6 separate regions of the Homo sapiens genome follow, and regions 2, 3, 4, 5 and 6 are each linked to region 1. The links are contacts of gene promoters, found by promoter capture Hi-C in human tissues and cell types (Jung and others, 2019). All regions are on one chromosome and are shown on one strand. The core of a region is centred on a gene start or on the middle of the fragment in contact, and the rest is flanking DNA. Distances in the headings are between cores, read along the strand shown. Region 1 holds the start of SMIM2 (small integral membrane protein 2). Region 2 overlaps SERP2 (stress associated endoplasmic reticulum protein family member 2). Region 3 has its middle 63 kb from the start of LACC1. Region 4 overlaps LOC105370182 (a long non-coding RNA gene). Region 5 has its middle 52 kb from the start of SERP2. Region 6 holds the start of LOC105370182 (a long non-coding RNA gene).

Region 1 (2,626 bases), core at 84-2,583:
TCCTTTATCTCCACCAAAGAGATATCACCAAAGATCTGGGGGCAGCTTGGCCAGTCTATGTGCTGACTCTCTGCTGGAGCTGTCTCCTAATCAGGTCACTGCTAGAGTTCCTCTTCCTAAATGTCCCAGTGCCATGACTTTGGTGCTCTAGCTTGTGGGATTGAATCAATCTAAGAGTCCAGAGTCTATGAGGACTCCTTCTTCTCTATTGTATGCTGCTGTCTGAAGCTAAATGCTATTGTACAAGTTTTGTTGCTGTTTAGATTTTTTTTTGTTCCCAGATTATTGTTCCAAAAATAGACCTACGATATATTCTTATACATTTGAATTTAATTAAGAACCTTTTTCTCAATGACATAAATATGGTTTTACTATTTCCAGCCAGGCCAGACAAAGATGCCTGAAGACAGATTTCTAAATGATGCTATGTGCCAATTTCTCTGATCTTTTTAATATTGTAACTAAGGGGCCTTGCTCTGAGATGGTGGTTTACGATTTTGACATGCTGTCCTGTACCACTCTCTGATCACAAGGGAATACGTAGAAACTCACCAAAGCAACTGCTGTCAGTCATCAAAGTGGAGCCACATTGTCCCTTCTAACCTCATAAGGATCCTTATGGGATTCAGGATGATCACATTTTCAGTGCTCTAAGGACTGTCTCCGTATGACCCCAGCCATACCATGCCCATTACTGATGTATTTGACCTGTTGAGCCTCCAACAGCATTGCAGACTCCACTTTTTGTGTTCCAACAGGACTAAGGCCAGAAGCGAATGTCCTATTTTTTCCTGCCATTTCTCTGCTGAGCAACAGTTCACCCTTGAAGCTGCTGCTGCCTAAAGAACAGGAGAAGATTCAGGAATGCTAACAATAGTTACCTACATATCGCATGCCCTCTGCCCTTGCCCATTGTAAGAGCCTCACCACTTGGATCAGTAAGAGTCCACACTTGCTCAGTACATCTTGGTGCTCACTTCAGCTGTGGGCTCTGATTTAAACATCCAGCTCAGGGGATGCCTCTTTGGTGCATGTCATAATCAGGAGAAGAATGCTGGCTTTGGATTCTGGAACTGACTCCATTTGTAGTGAAGAGTTTGGAGAGCATCAATAATGGGATGGCAACATTCATTCATTCATTTATACCTCTAACCAGTCTTTCCTCACATACTGGTTGAGTACTCAATACGTGCCCTGTGCTTAGCTGAGTACTGTTCAATGGTGAACAAAGAAGACATGGTCTTAACTAGAAGTTCCTATTTCAACAGAGTAGCCCAAGGAACTTCAACCACTTTTGCTACAGGTGTATTAGTTACTGCCAAGAGTCTGTAAGTGTTCATGGGCCTCATTAAGCTCTGCCTTCCTTCTGCTTTTTGGAGCCTGGCCTTTGGTTGGCCTTGAATGAAGAGTGGGGCCCCAAAAGTACCACTGTCAGCACTCTCCAGGTGAGTATTATCCTGGGAGAGGCCAGGGCATGAGGAGGGCCAGGGCGTGGGGCCCTCTGAAGGCTGTGTCATCCCAGGCTTCAGCCACAGAGGTTTTATTACGGAGGAAAGCTGAGCTGTGAGCACGTTGCTAGGCTGTGGCTATTTATTTTTATAAACGAGCCTTGTGCTTAATTTAGAAACCTGCTTTTTCTTTTTCTTTCTTCTTTCCAGCATCATCTGGCTGTCTGGCACCATCAAAGAATTGCATTTCTGACCCAAGAAGAGCTTATGGGTGGATGGGGGTGGGATGGAAGCTGGGGAGAGGATTGATGCCAGCCAGCTGCCTCACAGGGTGCTGGAAACACGTGGCCATGCCATTAGCATCCTGTTCGGCTTCTGGACGAGTTTCATCTGTGACACCTACATAGTCCTCGCTTGGATCAGCAAGATAAAAGGCAGCCCTGATGTTAGTGCCTCCTCTGATGAGCCATACGCCAGAATCCAGCAGAGCAGAAGGCAATGCCACGCAGAAGAGGACCAAAGTCAGGTGCCAGAAGCAGGTGACATCTCCACTCTCAGTTCTTTGGAGGCAGCTATTTTAATAGAACCACTTTACTGCAGCTATTTTGACATGAGGATATTTTGGTATGGCTCAAAGATTCAGCCGATAAATGTTCAGCTTTTTAAAAAATAAATGATGAGTAAAATAGGCATCTTGCAGGCCATCTGTGAGCTTCACCTCAACCTTGATCTTCACCTCCCCCCCTCCATTGTCAATCTTACCTCCAGGCATCAAGGGTGTATGGATTGGTAACAGATGAAGGAAAGGACTGGTAGAGGTTCAAAATGAAAGAAATAGCAGGTCAGGACTCCAGGAGGGTTGAGGGTCTTTTAAAGTAAAACAAAACAAACAAACAAACAAAAAAACAGGGTCAACCAAATTCAGAAGTCAGGTAGAAGTCAGAGAAGGAATGAAAGATGGGAAACTGGTTATAAACCAAATACAGCGAGTCTGAATTTTGGCTTGTTTTGAGGCTGCTGTATCAAAACAGTTGTGTTGGAAGAGCTGCATGAAATTGTTGGGCAAGAAATAGTCCACTCATGATTCAGATAAGCTCATTTTGCCTCTTCCATGGTCGATTTCTGACTCATAAATGTCTATACATTTCACTTTACGGCTTATGTGAGCCTCAGTTTCC
Region 2 (2,626 bases), core at 74-2,573, 240 kb before region 1:
CTTTAGTTTTCTCACTGTAACCCACACATGGTATAAGGTTGAACGAAGACATTTATTTGTAAAATCAATTCTCAATGGAGGAGAGATTGTATCCATAGAAAGTAAACCAGTGATCGTTCAGAGGGCCACATGCACGCATTAGTGAAACCAAGGGAAAAACCAAAAAAACAGCACTGCTGCGGACGACCCGCGTGGCTACTAATCCTGCCAACAGAAAAGCAAAATGTCCTTTCCGCTTGAGAACGCGGATGCACCAAGATGTCCTGTGAGAAGGCAATTTGGTCTGACATCCACGATGAAGTGATCAGGGAACAAGTGGGGGAGCGTTTTTTTCTATTCCGTGTGGCCTGCTTGTTTCCCGCAGAAACTGGCTGACCGCTTCCGTTGTCCTCCCGCCTCCAGTGGGAGGGAGGTGGTGTCAAATCCCTGGCTTTCTCACATGCCCATCCTTATGCTCTGAATGATCTGAAAGATAGCTGAAAAGAGGAAAACACCACAGCTCAGACACCAGACTGCACACAGCTGGAAACCCAGCCCACAGTGAGCCCGGCTTCTGCAGACCCCTGGGCCCTGACGTGTTAGCTCACAGCTGATTAGATATTTCCTAACAAGGAGTTAAGTTAACAAGAGGTCAGTGAACTTCTTTAAAAAGGCAGCCTCGCTCAGTCGGCTGATGGATGCCTCAGGGATTTATAGATAACTCCTGCTAATTCCACCAGCAGTTAAGGCCAGAAATCCCTCAGGCACTGAGAAGAGATTTGGCCCCCTTCCCCAGCAAAGTTCTGGGGCTGCCTGGGAGAGGGATATGGGCTTTCGTGCAGAAACTGCACTCATTAAACAGGTCAGTGAGTCTGCCTTTTCAAAATGGCTGTGACCTGTAAAACAATGAGCCCTGTGCTGGGAAGGCCGACCAGGTGCTCGGAGCAGCCCACGGGGCCCGGCCTCTGTCTGCCTAGAACCCTCCATGCGTGAGTATCTTCCAGCTGCTTGGAACTCTCTGAAAGGCGGCTGTCTCTTATGGAGAGCGGCACTTATTTATTCAGGGCTCAACCTTTAATAACTGGAGTTGTCAAGGGGGTGGGTAGCTTGTAAGCCCACAGAGAACTCCTGGGACCCTTGCCCATGTGGATGAGAGCTGGTTACATAGCTTCAGCCTGCTTCCAGCTATTGGGTTTCAAATGTGTCCCAGGAGCGGAAGATCCCAACTTCTTTTTCACATCTTCCCCAGTGAGCAACCGTGGTCAGTGTTGACAAAGATGATGGTAATGATAAGAGTAACTACCATGTATTGAATGGCTTTTTTTTTTTTTTTTTGAAGGAGGGTGGGTATCATCTCATCTAACCATGTGTAAAAACAGAATAAACACTGAGCTCTCAGGGGTCTTACCCCTTCTCGCCTTCTTAAAGTCATCCTGGAATACATCCAGGATCCACGGTAAAACAGAGTTATCCAGAACCCTAGGAAACCAGCCATTCAAGTTTCATCATCTGGCATCAATGAGCACATCCTATGTGTCAGACACTGCGCTTCAAGGATAGAAAGAGAAATGATGGACAGGGCCTTGGGGAATCGTTCTTGGACAGCTGGGTTTTAAGAGTAGACAAACATGAATGCATTTTTTGGCTTTTTTTCCCCGTAAAAACACTGTACCCATCATCACTACCTTTCTAAATTGGAGATACCAACATATTTCAATGCTAACTTTTCATGAGTGTTCAGTGTCACCATAATGAAAACCAGTAACTGATGAGACGTGCTGTGATCTCATTACAGAGGAGGCTGCGTGTGATCTGACACTGAAATGCTTCTGGTCAGCTGCACTTCTGGGCTCCCATTTCTGCTTCTGATCATTTTTTGGGTCTCTTTCTTCTCATCTCTGGTCACATCTCTTGTATTACTACACCAATCTGCAGTGGGTCCTGTACTATTATTTTGTTGCCGTAGACTAAGCTGAAAACAGAAACTGTTAGAATTACGAGTCAAATCAGAGTCAATCAGCTCCATGTGAGTGTCAGGGACTCATCTGTAGATATGGTGAAGGTGTTGGTCCAACAACTTGTGATATTTAATTCTGGATGTGCTCAGATATTTTCTTAGCTAAGTTTGGGTTCTTGGGTGGGTCTTTTTTTTTTTTTTTTTTTTTGAGACGGAGTCTTCCTCTGTCGCCCAGGTTGGAGTGCAGTGGTGCGATCTCGGCTCACTGCAAGCTCCGCCTCCCCGGTTCACGCCATTCTCCTGCCTCAGGCTCCCGAGTAGCTGGGACTACAGGTGCCCGCTACCATGCCCGGCTAATTTTTTGTATTTTTAGTAGAGACGGGATTTCACCGTGTTAGCCAGAATGGTCTCGATCTCCTGACCTCGTGATCCACCCACCTCAGCCTCCCAAAGTCCTGGGATTATAGGCGTGAGCCACCGTGCCCGGCCTTGGGTGGGTCTTAACAGGAGCAGTTGGAAGAGAAAGTACCCTACAACAATTTATAAGCTTGCAGAAATATCTGATGTTTCTTTCCTCCCCACCAAGGCTCACAAGGAGTAAAAATTAAATAAACATTCTGTATTCTGGCTCAATAGGAATGTCAGGAGGCAGCTGTATATTCAACATTAGGAAAAAAAAGATTACTTCTA
Region 3 (2,626 bases), core at 37-2,536, 220 kb after region 1:
AGCCTCATTCTCATTTGTCATGCCTGAGTTACACTGACCTTCTTTCTTTTTCTGGAACATGTTAAGCTCATTGTCACCTCAGGGCCTTCATATTTCTTTCTGTCTGGAATGGTACATGCTACTCCCCCAGATCTTTCTGTGATCTTTCTCATCATTCACATCTCAGCTCCTTAGAGACTTATCTGATCATCATAACTAGAGTAGCCTCGCCTTGTATCTGATCTTCTATTTCATTTTGCTGTTTTATATATTTTTATAGTACTGTTGCAGGTGGATGCCCAGGGAACCAGAGAGTGAGTAGTGGTTTTGCATGGAAGAAGTTATTAGAGGTACTCTTGATCAACACCTGAAGAAGGGAAGGAAAATAAGAATGCTGGGAAAAGGGAGAAATTAGGCTATAACTGCAGTCTCAACAAAGACCTCAGCCAGCCCCACAGGGAGTTCTGAAGCTAGAATGGCTTTTTAGAATATACCAAGTTTCAAAACGAGGAGACAAGTCTTTATACCCCCAACATTGGATGCTAGCTGCCCCAAGAAGTCACAGCAGCTCTTAAGTTGAGACAATTTCCAAAGACACCTGAAAGCTAAAACTGTCTGTTTGCAACATTCTCAACCTCTTGAGGAGTAAGATTTTAAGTATTGAATAGGAATATGGGCAACATTTCACCAGAGTCCACCCTTTGAATCCACTGCTTTGTATAAATTCTGGAGGCAGCTTAGTTAGGATGCTGGGGCATCTGATTCTCAGTGAAACTTATTGAGGTTTAGTGGAATAAAATACATCTCTAGCCACTGCAGCCAGTCTTGGGATCACATTCTCCCTCCTCTACTCTCCATTCTATATGCTCCCTAAACTCACCTAGAAACTCCACAGGTTTATTTGTCTTGCCTGGTAACATGAACCAGACCCTTATCCTGTGGGGTCTGAGCTCTCAATCACCATGTCCTTCTCTGATTATGGCTTTTGCACTTGTCTACTATTGTCAAACTTGGGCAAAGGAATAACAAGAGGCACCTAAATAAATAATGTGGGTGCCATATATATTCTTCCCTGTCTCCATTGTATAACAGTAGCCCAATGTCCTAATGATGCCAGGAAGCATCCCCTTCTTGCCTGTCGGTCCCTTAGCACGAAGATCTCAAAGTGCCCAAGAGTCAGCTTCAGCTTATAGTTTAGTAAGATTCCTGCTGTGTCCTCTGGTGAAAGCATTTCCTCTCTGGGAACCAGGACCACTAAACCCACAGAACCCAGAGATGCCAGGAAAGGAAGATACATCCCGCAAGCAGATAACTGGGAGAGATGAAGGACCATTCATGCCTCTACCCCTTAATTCCAGGACCCATGTATTCTATCTAGTGGGGATGTAGCACTACATAAAATTCATTGATTACTGGTAAGCACTGCACCCTAGATAATGACACCCATCCCCACAAAGTATAATCTCAAAGTTCCTGCTTCAGCTGTTCTTTGAACATACCTTTGCTCTGCTAATCCAGCAGCTTCTGGTGGTGCAGTATATGAGAGGATCGGTGGATTTCTTAGTCATGTGCCCACTACTGCATCCCCTTTCCTTTAAAGTGAGTCCCTAACTCTGAGGCCAGTATGAGTCATTCCATGCTCATGGACAAACACTGCATAGGTCCTCAAGTAGTAGTGCTGGTTGAAGCTCTGTGGAAAGGAAAGACAAACTTTTACATACATTCCCCAAATATATTTCTATTTCTATCAAAATAAGCCACTACTCTTTCCAGGGTGGAAAATGTCTAATGTGTTTAACTTGCCACCAAGTGGCTGGTTGGCATTCTGGAGGGTTGGTGCTGTACTGGGGACTCGGCATTGATCTCTGCTGCTGGCCATGCTGATTTCTGTTGGGCTCAGGCATAGTACTAATCTCTACCACCAGTGATGGTGTCTTTACTCCTAGCTAGGCAGCAGGTCATCCAGCCCCTAAATGCTAAATCAGTGTCTGTTTCCTTGATATTCTGCTAGTACTAACTGCTGCAGGTCAGGACTCCCAAGAAGTAGACTGAGATAAAGATTAATAAGTAGAAAGTTTGTTAGGGAGTCCTCTTGGTCCTCACTGATGGAAAGGATAGAAATAGGATTAGGCAGAGGAAGAAGTAGGGTTGTGATGTGGTCCCAACAAGGACCAGAGCTAATCCTACCAAAAGATGGAATCGACCTTCAGAGTTGTCCTGAGCTGGGTTAAGGGGGTCCAGTTATTGGAAATGACTACCCTATAGGTAGGAAACATGACCTTTGGCAGGGTAACTCTCTTCAGATAAGGCAATTCCCAAAGAAAACTATGTTACTCAGGGTTCTCCAGTGAAACAGAGTCAATGGGATGGATAGATAGATAGATAGAGAGATAGATAGATAGAGGATTTATTATGAAAATTGGCTCACATGATTATTGAAGCTGAGAAGTTTCATGATAGGTCATTTGCAAGCTGGAGAACCAGGGAAGCTGGTAACTTGCTTCAGTCTAAGTCCAAAGGGCTGAGAAACAAAGACCAGAGAACCTGAAGTTCTAATGTCCAAGGGTAGGAGAAGACAAGTTTCCCTGCTCCAGAAGAAAGAGCAAATTCAGCTTTCCTTTGCCTTTCTGTTCTATCCAGGCCTTCA
Region 4 (2,626 bases), core at 33-2,532, 160 kb after region 1:
CAGTGTTCTGTCTGGCTAGGGAAGCCTCAGGACACTTACGATCATGGCAGAAGGGGAGGAAACCACCTTCTTCACATGGTGGAAGGAGAGAGATGGGCAAAGGAGGAACTCCCAAACACTTATAAAAACCATCAGATCTTGTGAGAACTCACTCACTGTCATGAGAACAGCATGGGGAAAATACTGTCCCATGAAACAATCACCTCCCTTTCTTTACATGTGGGGATTGCAGGTCCCTCCCTCCACATGTGGGGATTACAATTTGAGATGAGATTTGGGTGGGGACACAGAACCAAACCATATCACCCATGTTGCAACTTAATAAACTGAAGCACTGTGTGGTTAAGTAGTTGCAATTGTTAATAGCTAAGCTAGAACTTGAACACTGGTGGTCTGGCTGTAAATGCAGCACTCTTTCTACTACGGCAACTCACCCAGGCAAGTTATTTTATATTTTTATGACAAACCATCCTCCCACATCCAACCCTTTATCTGGGTGTAAAGAAGGGATTGTGGTAAAGATCTTGATTGAAATATACCTCTGACCCCTTATTTGAAGAGATAAAAAGGGAAGATGAATTAGAAAAGGGGGAGGGAAAATATGCAGTGATTAAAAGGTGGGCTTTATTTTAAATTTCCTTTTCTTTCAAGTTTTATATTTAATACTTCAGTGTGTTTGCTTCAAAACAGGTTACCAAGCAACGGCTTCAGGCAAATCACCTCAGATCTGCTCTCCATTCCCCCAGGGTTGTGGGGGTCCGAAGCACAAGCAGATGTCTGGAGGGAGCTATTACTCACATCCTCCCCTTCTTAATTTCCCCTTCTTAATTTCGCTCGGTGGCAGTAGCAGCAGTCACAGACCAATCTCTATCACTTCAGGAAAGAAGGGGGCAGAAACAGGTAAGAAACTGGCAATAAAAGGGCAATAGGAAGAAAGCTTTAATCTAAGCCTTTGCCAACTGTGGTGAGGACAAACCCACTCTGTTTTGTTCAAAAGGTATTCTTTGGAAGGAAAAAAAAATTAGATATGTTGAAAGGAAAGAACATTAAAAAGGGATTCTGGTGTTTTTATCCAGATCACTCAGCCTCTAGTTCTGAAATTCTCCTAAGAGCTCTTGCTAGAAGTCAGAGTTCCTTCAACAGAAAAGAAGAAAAGAAAAAAATTAAGGGGGAAGTGGTGAGATAATTAGGTAGGAACACACGCTTATAAGTTCTATCCCCAAAATACAGAGTGTGAATAATTATATAAGGAGATGAAATATGAGTAAATATGGATATTACAACCTTCTTTGAAATTAGGCCTTATACTGTTTAATGTCATTTTAATAATCTTGTGGTTTATTCTATAATGTATTTTCCAAATTGCTGTAGAAAGCCTGAAGGCACATGTACAATGAAATCATTCAGCAAAGTTTTTTAAACAATTGATAATAGTAATAAAATGAAAACTGGCTGTGCTTAACTGTAATTCACAGTGAGATAATTCTCTGTCCTTTTATGGCATTTGTCTCAAAGTGACTGACCTCTGGGTAAGGATTAATTAAATCCCACAACTAGAATGAGGGGCAAAATTCCAGACAAGTACAATTAAATCCTGTTATAAAGCACCTTTTGATTCATAGATTGGGTTACACCTGGGTCAGATTATGCCCCTGGTGTACATGAGAATGCAGAATACATTTTTCACTCTGTAACCCCGAATGCATATAACACAAGGTTATCCTTTCTTCAGGAAAACTGATTTAATGACTGACTCAAGAACATTTTGCTTTTCCTCATCAATCCCCTGCTGCCTTATAGCTGCTAGTTCTCAGATGATGTCCATGTAATCCTACATTTAAAATATTACAAGATTTGACAACATGATACAATAATTAATTTCCCGAACTCAACTGCTTCTCATTTCTCCAATCTGTCTTCAATAAAAGAAATGAACAAAATGTCCCATGTGCTGTAGCAGCTACTTCAACTAAGCATTAAGAGACTGCTCTTTCTTCCTGCCTTCAGTACTGGGTTTTATTTAGTTATGTTATATTTTTGGAAACCGTATTTTTTTAAAGATATGATTTCTTTATACTTGTGAGTTGAAGTCTGCAGGGCATATGTCCTCTAGTAACTGAACTAAGAGCCCAAAGCAGGAAATGGCCAAATAGCCGTCAGTTGTGATACTAGGGCTTTGAGCCACGACAGTTCTCAATTACATTTGGACCAGGAACCTTAAAATGGAACACAGCCCATTCAGGTAACTCTGTGCCTTTTTATCAGCCACCCTTTGGGCCTTCATGTCTCATTTCCTCTATGCCAAGTTAAACCTGTTGATTAGTTAGACTCTATTAACATCATCCACCATCTGCAGAATATGCTTCTCAAGATCATGCCACTATCAAAGGACTTCCTTGCCCATGTGGGACAGATCCAAGGCCCAGGTTAAATGAAAAGACTTGACAATGTGCAAATAAGACACAGAAGTCACATATGTAGCTTGCTTTGGCTTCAAATAAGCTCTGACTGAGCCAACCAAATCTGAAGAGCTCTAGAGAAGGGTTTTCTGAAAAGTCTTCAAGGAGGCCAGAAGCTTTAGGATATGTTTTAAATGTTAAAATTTCAAGGAATCAAGAGACTGGCT
Region 5 (2,626 bases), core at 39-2,538, 160 kb before region 1:
CCTGGGCATTAGTGAGTAGCTTCATGCAGAAATCCTGATACGTCTTGGTATTCCCTTGCTCCCCCTCACTGTCCTTCATGCTTTGAGCTGTCTAGAAGCCTGCCTTGCAGGCCCCGCATGCATTCACCTCCCTGAGTCCCGACCGGCTTGCAGTGCTTTAGGAAAGGCAGAGCATTTGGATCCCTTGGTGCTAAAGACCATGCTGTAGAAAATCTTGCCTACCTGCCTTTGTCAAAAGGCTTTTCAGCTTAGATTTCAAGCCTTCTTCTGTAATCAGGTGCTTGTAAACAGTTCTGGGAAGCTTCAGTTTCATGAGTGGGCAGCTGCATTTACCTGGACCTGGTTTTTTCCCAAATAGCTGAGCGGAGCCCTGAGTAAACTTGTTTCTATGTGTTTACAGAGACAGTGATGCAATGAGGCAGGTTAAATTCTGCCGCATGTATGGGAATCCCCAAGGAACACATCTAGGTTATAAGTCATTACTCTTTACCTGTAAGTACATTTCTGCCAAGAGGCCTGAACACACAGGCTGGGAGGTAGATACTGGCTAGCTGTTTTGTTTTTTTACTTGTGCTTGTTTTATAGTAAATACTGTTTTACTTCCTTGATTTTATGTAACAAATTATACTTTCCAGACCTCTTTCAACTGTTATCACATTTCATCTTCTTAATAGCCTTGTGAACTAAACAATTATCATCTCCATCTGATATATGAAGAAATAAACTTCACATTCATTTACTGTGATGTTTGGAGAACCTGAGGATGAATATCTTTGAAAAAAATTCTTGGAGATCCCAACTTTTGATTTAAATTATTTTTATTATAGCATTACATAAAAATGCACAAATATGAAAGTAGCCATACATTTCTTATGGTTATGTTTATTATAGAACCATTAAAAATGCACTAATTAAATACAAACAAGACAACACCAACAATAACATTCAAGTTAACAACACTGATTTCATGTGTTAGGTGATGTTTTGCTGAAACTAAATTGCTAATATTGGGCTAAATGGTAGGCTGATGTATCTACATTTTTATAGCCCACTTGTCAATATGAATCCTTGGATTAGTCTGAGTCATTGTGTTTACCATAGTCACTATTCTTCCATTTTGACATGACCTCATTTTAAACTATGAATCCATGGTTGTGAAGGACCAATCAATTGAAAAGTATAAATCAAATGCCATGCTAAAATTTAAATATTTAATGAAAAAATCTTCATTGCATATTTGCCATAGTATTTACTGTTAATGAACCATTGGAGACTGGTACAAACCAAAACAGGATTCAGAACTATGGCTGTAGGGTGATGCCTCCATCCTTCCACCATGATGGTTAATTTTGTGTGTTAACTTGACTGGGCTAAGGGATGCCCAGATAGCTGGTAAAACATTATTCCTGGTGAGTCGGTGAGGGTATTTTGGGAAGAAATTAGCATTTGACTTGGTGAACAAAATAAAGCAGATGGCCCTCCACCATGCCTGGGCATTTTCCAATTATTTGAGGGCCTGAATAGAACAAAAAGGTGAAGAAGGGGCCAATTTGCTCTCTCTGCTTGAGCTGAGACATCCGTCTTTTGGACTCAGACAGGGACTTACACTATTACCATCCTCTTTCTCACCTCCTCGCCCCCTACTCTCAGGCCTTCTGACTGAGTTATGCCACCAGCTTTCCTGGTCTTCAGCTTGCAGTGGTAGATCACGGAGCTTCTTGGTCTCCATAATTGCATGAACCAATTTCTACATCTCTTCTTATATATGTCTCTCTCTATATATTCTATTGGTTCTGTTTTCCTGGATAACCTTGACTAAAACACCCACTATATTTCTCCATTTGAAGTACCTTCTGTTAGTAAAGTTTTCTGACACCCCCACCCTTCTATGTTTATGAAAATCTGTCCCTGTTAAGTTGGGAAACTTTTCATAATAATTGAGATTCCTAAGATGACTAAAATGTCCTGGTTTTAGGGAAAACCAAAGTGAGAAGCCTTCGTAGGATGTGCATTTGAGCTTCACAAGAGGCAGAACTCTCTCTAAATCGCTTGCTTTCTGATATGTTGTAAAGCTCTCAGCATAGATTGCTTGATACAAAATTTTAAATGTTCAAAGCTTGAGCAGATTTAGGACTCATCTAATCCAATTCATCTAATCCAAATCCCTTACTTTATATAAGGGGAAACCAAATCCCAGGGAAATTAAATAACTTGTGCAAGGAAAGGTCACACAGGCAGATATTGGTGGCATCAATAATTACCTCAACATCACAACCTCTCTGCTGCATCAGACAGCTTCCCTGCTTTCAAGTCTACTTATCCGCAGAGAAGCCATTCAAAACAGAGTCTGCTCACATCTCAAAGAAAAGGCTGGATTCAATTGCTCATCACAAATTCTTGAAAACTGATTTGTATTGCCTGTCTCTTTCCAGTTTTTAATTTTCTTAACCAATTTCATCTACGTTATCAAGAAATGTAGTCTTGAGTCATACTTAATGGAGATAGGGCTAATTAAGAGCAGAACTGTAGGCAACGAAAAATCTTATATGCCTGGTTGAATGAACATCCACTTTCTAAATCCCATGATAAAGACATACATTGAAGATGTGAACCAAACACAAACTGA
Region 6 (2,626 bases), core at 82-2,581, 150 kb after region 1:
GAGGAGAGAGAGAGAGAGCCATGTGGACCTCAGAGAGAGGGTGCTCCAGGTAGAGGCTATAGCCAGTGCTAAGGCCCTAACAGGACATGTCTGTGTGTTCAGGGAGCAGCAAGGAGGCCAGGGCACTAGAGAGGAAAAAGTTGAGGGAAAGCTCATAGGAAGGCGTCAGAGAGCTACAGAACCCAGGCCATCTAAGTAAGGCCTTGTAGGCCACTGTTGATTACACTCTCCCTTGGCCTCCATACAAATGCTCTGTGCTGGTTCTCTCCTTAGTTTATTTCCATTTCCTCGTTTCCATCTCCAGGGATTCCTGTCCTTGGCCAATCCCCACACAGTTGCATTTTCCAGGTGTCTTTTTCGCATCCTTCTCTGCTCCCTCACCATCTCTCACTTTTTGATCATATCTACTTCCTTGGCTTCTACTATGACTAATTCCTAGAACTTTTTCCAAGTCACTCCTGCCTCCAAGGTACTGTTTCTAACTCGGTATCTCTCCAACATCTCACACTCAGCATGTGACATCAGCTTTCTCTCAAGCCAGTCATTCCTGGGGTCTTTTCTATTTCCATTAATGGCAACTCTATTTCCTTGGCCACTTGGGTTTCAAATCTTGTAGTTGCCATTTTCCTCGTTATCTAATCAGTGTTGAAGGGCTCTTAAATGAATCTGCAAAAAAGGAAACTTCACGTGGGGATTATATATCCAATAGCATTAGGTAGAGTTCACCAGGTCACTTTTAGACCTTTATGATATTGTTGTATTTGCTTACGTGAGTTCTGTATTACCAATAATATTTTCATAATGAGTCTAACAAATCAGAAACTAACTTTGCTTTATGCTCGCATCATTCAAAAGTTTATAATAAAGGGCAATTCCAAGGTAGGACCTGGGTTGTAAGCTTTTCTTTTGGTGCCAGAAACTTCAGATCCTGCCGTTTGCTGGGCCTTCCCTTACCCTTGTTTATCATTTGGATTGCCGTGCTGCAGCTCCTGCCTGACACTTTGATTCAGCATTTTATCCCAGATCCATTCAGGAAGGAATTCGAGGAACGAGCAAAATCCCTGGAAATAATTTATCGAAAGTAACCCATCCACCCTCCAACCTAATGAAAGATTTCATTAGTTACAAGTCTGAGTAACTCACAACCAGCTTCCACTGCCAAAGTCCAGTTTTCAATAGGAAGTCCATCCCTCATCCCATTCCTTCTTGCGCCACAAGGGCACTTTATTTACTCTTTCTCCAGACATTGTTATTTCCTGTGGCACTTCTTTTGCAATAACAAGATGCCAGGTTAATCTCCTTCCCTGCATATCTCTCCCGTTCTCTCCCTCCCTCGCTCCTATCTCTCTCCTGAGAAGCCACTGAATGGCCTACATTTAGGCAAACCAAGAAAGACACAGTTAGACACAGCTTCTCCCTCTTAACAAGTGTTATTTCTCCCTCTTAGAGGCACTGCCCTTCCTGAAGCACATAAATTCTCCTTTCCTGTTTGCAAAACTGTCCACTCTTCTTCCTTTGGGAAAAGGTAGGCAGGCTCCAAGGAGGGGCTATGCTCACTGCATGTGGCACGAGCTCTGTGTTCTGTTGGCCAAGATTCAAAACCAGCACTGGAACAAGACAGTATCAACCACAGGGTCCCTGTGCAGGGTCCCTGTCCATCCCAACAAATGGACGACTCACTTCCAGAGACTGGGCACTCAGCAGCCACGCCCAAGGCCCCAACAGCGTCCTAACATCAGGGCTAAGGCACTAGAGGGTTTGATGGTTCTGAGGCACTCGTGGAGAGAAGAAAGGAGTGGAAGATAGAGGAGAGAAGAAAGCAGGGCTTGGACAGATAAGGCCAGAGGGGATTTCCCCCTTCCCAAGTTGCTCCCAGCCACCAAAGAGTTTCCGGGCCTCACAAAGGCTTTTCCCAGCTCACCAGCCTGTCTGACCACAGCCTAACAGTGAGATCCAGAACAGATACATCCTTAAAGCACTTAGGCTTACTGCAAAAGGCCAGCATAGTTGTGGAAAGAGTCCAGTTTATTTGGGCTAGGGTCTATGGGCTGCGATTTTCTCACACTTGATTTTAGCCTACAGGCTGAGAATTGACTAGGTTGTGATTTCTTAACTGAATTTTGTTGGGAGCTCTGACTCTGAATTTGAGTGCCACTGGCTGCTGCATCTACTTTGTATCAACTCCAGGTGCTCCTCCCACATCTAAGTCTGAGGTTTAAGAAGTACAGTAAAGCTGCTATGAATTCCCAGCTATGGGAATTTTCCTCAAAGCTTCATTGTCTAAACTCTGAACCTCATCATAACCTCAGTTCTGCCTAGCTCCATAACTAGTAGGTTTCACAATTTGATGTCCTCTTGCTGTGCTGACCCACTTGGAACTGGTAAGTGAGTTCTGGACAGGTATTATTGGCCCGTGATCCCTGTAGAAACCAGACTTGCAGAATCGTTTTCAGGCTCCGTTCTTACTGTCACGCGAAGGGCTTTGACTTCTAATAGCCAGGAAGGGAGCCTAGGCAGACAGGATATTCCCTGAGTATAACGGGATCTGGCAACGGGCTGTAGGGTGGGAAAATGTACAAGGGGAGGAGACGCTTGTATGTAAATAGAGACTTATCTAGATTCCAGG

The links. The method cuts DNA at HindIII sites, captures the fragments that hold promoters and counts their contacts. A contact is called where the count stands out against the background at its distance.
Region 2: a contact is called between a fragment that was not itself captured here and the fragment with the promoter of SMIM2 in region 1, in 6 of the 25 tissues and cell types used here (H1 embryonic stem cells, aorta, dorsolateral prefrontal cortex and 3 more).
Region 3: a fragment that was not itself captured here is called in contact with the fragment with the promoter of SMIM2 in region 1 in 2 of the 25 tissues and cell types used here (hippocampus and mesenchymal stem cells).
Region 4: a contact is called between a fragment that was not itself captured here and the fragment with the promoter of SMIM2 in region 1, in 2 of the 25 tissues and cell types used here (aorta and small bowel).
Region 5: a contact is called between a fragment that was not itself captured here and the fragment with the promoter of SMIM2 in region 1, in 3 of the 25 tissues and cell types used here (bladder, dorsolateral prefrontal cortex and mesenchymal stem cells).
Region 6: a fragment that was not itself captured here is called in contact with the fragment with the promoter of SMIM2 in region 1 in 5 of the 25 tissues and cell types used here (H1 embryonic stem cells, dorsolateral prefrontal cortex, heart left ventricle and 2 more).

Annotation. Positions count from the first base shown.
Region 1 is chr13:44,159,964-44,162,589 of GRCh38, reverse strand. It overlaps SMIM2 (small integral membrane protein 2), which reads left to right and starts at 1,333. Exons shown (of 3, transcript NR_197392.1): 1 at 1,333-1,445; 2 at 1,659-1,987. RefSeq lists an enhancer at 2,202-2,626. The HindIII fragment of the contact is 7,742 bases long and covers 1-2,626 here.
Region 2 is chr13:44,395,122-44,397,747 of GRCh38, reverse strand. SERP2 (stress associated endoplasmic reticulum protein family member 2) reads right to left here. Exons shown (of 3, transcript NM_001010897.3): 3 at 34-476. The coding sequence ends at 436. Among named protein-coding and RNA genes, the nearest start is that of TUSC8, 9.5 kb to the left of the region's middle. The HindIII fragment of the contact is 9,805 bases long and covers 1-2,626 here.
Region 3 is chr13:43,941,466-43,944,091 of GRCh38, reverse strand. No RefSeq gene overlaps it. Among named protein-coding and RNA genes, the nearest start is that of LACC1, 63 kb to the right of the region's middle. The HindIII fragment of the contact is 6,702 bases long and covers 1-2,626 here.
Region 4 is chr13:43,996,278-43,998,903 of GRCh38, reverse strand. LOC105370182 (a long non-coding RNA gene) reads left to right here. Exons shown (of 6, transcript XR_941918.3): 4 at 691-900. Among named protein-coding and RNA genes, the nearest start is that of NRAD1, 25 kb to the left of the region's middle. The HindIII fragment of the contact is 3,546 bases long and covers 1-2,626 here.
Region 5 is chr13:44,320,919-44,323,544 of GRCh38, reverse strand. No RefSeq gene overlaps it. Among named protein-coding and RNA genes, the nearest start is that of SERP2, 52 kb to the left of the region's middle. The HindIII fragment of the contact is 4,651 bases long and covers 1-2,626 here.
Region 6 is chr13:44,014,590-44,017,215 of GRCh38, reverse strand. LOC105370182 (a long non-coding RNA gene) reads left to right here and starts at 2,174. Exons shown (of 6, transcript XR_941918.3): 1 at 2,174-2,381. The HindIII fragment of the contact is 6,234 bases long and covers 1-2,626 here.